2 separate regions of the Homo sapiens genome follow, and region 2 is linked to region 1. Evidence: promoter capture Hi-C in 16 types of primary human blood cells and fetal thymus (Javierre and others, 2016). All regions are on one chromosome and are shown on one strand. The core of a region is centred on a gene start or on the middle of the fragment in contact, and the rest is flanking DNA. Distances in the headings are between cores, read along the strand shown. Region 1 holds the start of SLC27A5 (solute carrier family 27 member 5). Region 2 holds the start of ZNF544 (zinc finger protein 544).

Region 1 (2,582 bases), core at 31-2,530:
CCGAGAGGGAGGCCACGTGAAAGCCCCATCATACTCCTGGTTGCTGCTGTCCACGACCTTTAAGGCCCCTCCCATAGATCTTCCAGTCAGGCTCTAAGGGTCTTTTGGACTTAAGACTTCCCCTCCCCGACCTTGATGGACATGGCTGAGCACCTTACTTGTGGGGAGCCCAGGGGGATCTTTGGGGCCAGGTTGCACTGAGGGTATATAAGCCCCCATATATCTGCCCTTGGTGCTGGGGGCAAAGTTCAGGGAGGGCTCCGATGGCCGTGTTGGGGGCAGGAAACAGTGAGGGGTGGGATCCTGGGGCTGACTGCTGGGCGGTTGGGGACACCACCCCTACTGGCCAGCCAGTGTCCCAGGCCCCTGCATCCAGCGGAGAGAGCAGCCACTCTTTGCCCCTCTCCTCTTCAGCACAATAGTGGCTCCTAGCCTAGGTGCCCTGCCATAAGGATTTGGAGCTGGTGGAGTGGGGTATGGCCCCAGGCCATACCCCAGCCTGACCTGCCAGGCTCCTAGGCCAATGGCAGCTCCTCTGGGTTCACCTTCTGAGACTGCTTCCTCAAGGTGAGAGGCCAGGGCTTTCATGATCCAACTGTGTGCATCATGGGCTGACTTCAGTCTCCTGAACCCCAGGACTCCATCGTCGTCAAAGCCAGAGGTGGAGCAGAGAGTCAGAGCAAGCACATGGGTGGGGGGCAGAGCTGGGTTTGAATCCAGGCGATGCCAGTGTTCCTGTATTTACTGAGCACTTGCTGTATGCCTGGCAGGAGGGTACGATTCCTCGGATCATGGGACAAGGGGCTTAGCCTGGCTGAGCCCCTCTCCTCAGGGTTTCAGTGGGTGTCACAGGAGGACCTCCCAATGAGGTCCACCTTGCTGTCCTGTTGCTTTTCTGTTTGGCCTGATTGGAGTGTTCCCAAGGGCAGGGATTTCTGTGCTCTGAGTGTCTGGTACCCAGCAGGGATGGGAGGGGAGGCAAGGGAGTTAGATGCCAGCCCTGGAGGGTGGATGGGGCAAGCAGGACAGCAGGAAGGAGGCTAGTGGTGCCCAAGGGGCAGAGACCTGGGAACCCAGAGGCCAGTGATGGAAAGGGTTAGCGCCAGGCAGAGAGGGGCTGGACCCACACACAAGACCAGGCAGAGCAAACAAACGTAGAGGAGAAGGGCTGGGGGCAAAGTCCTGGGGAGAGGACCAGCCACTGTCAGCAGTGCCAGGGCCACCACCCCTGGGGAGGAGCCATTGGGCTACTCTTGAGGGGCCAGAGGTGAGCCTGAACACTCCACAGCTGCTGCTCCTAGGGAGGAGCTGGTACCATGGGTGTCAGGCAACAGTTGGCCTTGCTGCTGCTGCTGCTGCTCCTGCTCTGGGGCCTGGGGCAGCCAGTGTGGCCAGTCGCTGTGGCCTTGACCCTGCGCTGGCTCCTGGGGGATCCCACATGTTGCGTGCTACTTGGGCTGGCCATGTTAGCACGGCCCTGGCTCGGCCCCTGGGTGCCCCATGGGCTGAGCCTGGCAGCTGCGGCCCTGGCACTAACCCTCCTGCCAGCACGGCTGCCCCCAGGACTACGCTGGCTGCCGGCTGATGTGATCTTCTTGGCCAAGATCCTCCACCTGGGCCTGAAGATCAGGGGATGCTTGAGCCGGCAGCCGCCTGACACCTTTGTAGATGCCTTCGAGCGGCGAGCACGAGCGCAGCCTGGCAGGGCACTCTTGGTGTGGACGGGGCCTGGGGCCGGCTCAGTCACCTTTGGTGAGCTGGATGCCCGGGCCTGCCAGGCGGCATGGGCCCTGAAGGCTGAGCTGGGTGACCCTGCGAGCCTGTGTGCCGGGGAGCCTACTGCCCTCCTTGTGCTGGCTTCCCAGGCCGTTCCAGCCCTGTGTATGTGGCTGGGGCTGGCCAAGCTGGGCTGCCCAACAGCCTGGATCAACCCGCATGGCCGGGGGATGCCCCTGGCGCACTCTGTGCTGAGCTCTGGGGCCCGGGTGCTGGTGGTGGACCCAGGTGAGGGCCTTGGAGCCAGTGGAGAATGGAAGGGGGCAAGGGCAGGGACTATAGGACAGGGGTTCTGCTGGGACTGGCAGAGGCCCTTGGTCCCCACCTGCCTACTTTCACAGGCAATTATAATCAAGACTTATGAGCAGAAAGTAGTTCTCAGGTCATCAGAGTTTAATTTTCCCACAATTTGACCAAAAATACTAATGATGGGATTCTTTACCAAACAACATGGATGCTTTTCTCTACTAGCTGCTCCTCTGCCTGCATCTGTGGGTCTCAGATCCCGCCTCGCAACCTCAAAGGTGAGCCTTGCCTCTGTTTCTCCTCTGACCCATCTCTGCAGACCTCCGGGAGAGCCTGGAGGAGATCCTTCCCAAGCTGCAGGCTGAGAACATCCGCTGCTTCTACCTCAGCCATACCTCCCCTACACCAGGGGTGGGGGCTCTGGGGGCTGCCCTGGATGCAGCGCCCTCCCACCCAGTGCCTGCTGACCTGCGTGCTGGGATCACATGGAGAAGCCCTGCCCTCTTCATCTATACCTCGGGGACCACTGGTGAGGGTGCCCATTAGCCCTAGCACCAGCC
Region 2 (2,582 bases), core at 38-2,537, 280 kb after region 1:
CTGGCTGCAGGGCTGGGGAGGGAGTTGCTTTCTCTTTCCTTTTCCAGTTTTCTCCTTCCCTGCTTGTGGGGTGACGTTTCCAATCTGCTCCAGGTTACGTGTCCAGCCCAAACCTCCTGGGCTTCCTGCCACTGCCATTCCCTCCTCCACATTCAGCCATGTCACCCACATGCTCCTCAACTCCCATGCAGAGACTGACCAGGCATACCACATCTTCCTTGCACTGTGACTTCTACCCTGGCTCCACGCTGGAAACAGAAACACAGTCTTCCTCCACTCCTTCCTGTCTTTTGGCATCCCTCCTTACACGGAGTCATTTCCACAATCAGATGTTTCCCTACTCCCTTAGACTCTTGAAATCCAACCCCATGCCTTCCTCATTAGCACTGCCTTGTACGGTCCCCATCAAATATCACCCAACACAAATGGAACCCCGATCCCTAACTTACAGGCGTTACATACACATCCCATCCTGTTCACCTCTGTAGTCTCTCTATGGGGTGCACCAGCATCGCTTAACCAGTGCAGGCCCCCAACACCCCAGTTACCCCTGCCCTGCGTGGACTGGCCTTAATCTTCTGTTCACTTGGAAAATACACATGTTCTCTGCAAGGTTCAAGCTTCACGTACCATTGGAAGAAAATGTGTCCACGTCTGGAGCTGGGATGACCTCTGGGGTCCAATAGGCGTCACCTGCCTGGTGCCGCTGTGCCAGGAGGCTCTTGGCTGCCACCTGTGGATAAGCCGCAGAAGATGAGTTGAGGGAGGAAAAAGGAGCCGGGAGAGGCCCGCTGGGTCGGCAGCCCCAGAGCTCCAGACGCCAGCCTGAATCCCCCGCCCCTGCAGCCCTCGACCCAGGCACCCTCTGTCGGGAGGGCCCACCCAGTCCCACCCAGTCCCACCCAGTCCCACCCAGTCCCACCCAGTTCCACCCCTGCCCGTACCTGCGAGGTACTATAAGTTCCCTCCCAGCTCTGCAGCAGGAGAGCCTCCCGACAAGCTCAGACCCAGCCGGGCGCTCCTGCAGGGGAAACCTGACTGGACCGGCCTTCCCCGTCCCTGAGGCCGGAGAGATCCCGATCCCATCAGGCCCCTGCCCTTGCTCGGCCTCGCCGCATGAGGGACCCCCGCAGGCCCTGCTCGTTTCTCCGGCACGCCCAGATCACTTGGGGCGGCTCTGGCCTGGTCCTGCGCTCCGGCCGCACCCGGCTAACAGTGAAACCTCCGAGCCAACCTTGAGGCCGCCAGACTCACCTGCACGCACCGGCCAATGGCGGTGCTTCCGGTGGCCGGCGGACGTGCCCGCGCTCCGCGCAACAAACAACTCCCAGAAGGCCGCGCGCCGGTAGCCGTTGCTCCCACAGGCATAGTCATTGCCGGCGGGAGCATGGGGCCCCGCGGCGGCGGGATGAGCTTTTTCCTGTGTTCGCGACTAGCATTGTGGCTTAGGGAGTTGCTTCCCGCGGCTCTGCTCCTTGCAGCGCCTGTCCCCTCCCCCTTAAACGGGCCACGCTGGTTCTCATCCAGCAACCGAAGCCGAGACTGTGGAGGCGGCGGTCGGCGTCCAGGGCGGGACTAGCGCCTATGGGGCTCGGCGCTGTCATCTCGGGTGCCTTCCCGGCGCCTTGCCCTGCTGGGGAGAGAGACCAAGACTGAGCCATGAGAACAGTCCAAGGCCGTTAACCGGGAGCTCAGGGGCAAGGGCGCCCGCCAACATCTGCGCCTGTGGCAGGGACTCAGGGACAGCCTGGGCGTGGGGACGCGTCCTAGTGATAGAAACAAAGCCCCGGGAGTGCCCTGCTTGGAGCATTCCGAGTGGAAGGTGGAAGCACGCTAACTGGAGGCGATTCGTCCTAGGTGATCGCTCAGTCGAGCCTATTTGGCTTTCTGTGGTAGCTCCTAAGTGGGACAGGGAAAAAAATAGGGAGGCTGGCAGTGACCAAGTTCTGTTTTGTACCTATTGCTGCAGAAGTTGTGGGACAGAGTTCTGTTATTATAAATGGTCTGATGTTCAGTCTCAGTGCGTTGTGGGGCTCAATGTCTGAGACCCACCACCGCCTGACCCGTCCTGGCTCTTCAATGAGGGAGACCACAGGAAACTTTCCTACGAAGGCCAGGTAGGCGGGAACCACTGTGGCTCAGGCACCCTCAGCTCCTGGACTGTGCTTTTGTGTCTGGGGTGCATCTGTGACTAGCCTTCCTTGGCTTGACTGTTTTGTAGCTGACCTTGTCGATAGCTTTACCCAACAGTCATCATCTTTTTACTTGCTTATTTTCATACCTGGCTAGCACGACCCTGCAATTTTTAGATTCTTCCGGGAAATCTAGAATCTAACTCCCTAAGGGAGGATCTTGATGGATTCTAAGCTAATCAGAATGGACTCAAGCTTCTTGCTGTGTGAATTAGGCAAGGATATTCTGGCCAAGGAGAAATAAGGCTGCTAGGGGTTTCCTGGGAAGGTTCCCTCAGTCTTTTTTTTTTTTTTTTTTTTTTTTTTTTTTTGTGAGACGGAGTCTCGCTCTGTCCACCAGGCTGGAGTGCAGTGGTACGATCTAGGCCCACGGCACTCTCCGCCTTCCGG

The links. The method cuts DNA at HindIII sites, captures the fragments that hold promoters and counts their contacts. A CHiCAGO score of 5 or more calls a contact.
Region 2: a contact is called between the fragment with the promoter of ZNF544 here and the fragment with the promoter of SLC27A5 in region 1, in 1 of 17 cell types (total CD4 T cells). The highest score is 8.1, in total CD4 T cells.

Annotation. Positions count from the first base shown.
Region 1 is chr19:58,510,690-58,513,271 of GRCh38, reverse strand. It overlaps SLC27A5 (solute carrier family 27 member 5), which reads left to right and starts at 1,280. Exons shown (of 10, transcript NM_012254.3): 1 at 1,280-2,004; 2 at 2,342-2,551. The coding sequence starts at 1,317. LOC105372485 (a long non-coding RNA gene) reads right to left here. Exons shown (of 2, transcript XR_001754024.2): 2 at 2,149-2,582. RefSeq lists an enhancer at 1,063-1,577. The HindIII fragment of the contact is 7,866 bases long and covers 1-2,582 here.
Region 2 is chr19:58,227,619-58,230,200 of GRCh38, reverse strand. ZNF544 (zinc finger protein 544) reads right to left here and starts at 1,287. Exons shown (of 7, transcript NM_014480.4): 1 at 1,255-1,287; 2 at 631-733. RefSeq lists an enhancer at 585-1,411. The HindIII fragment of the contact is 1,767 bases long and covers 623-2,389 here.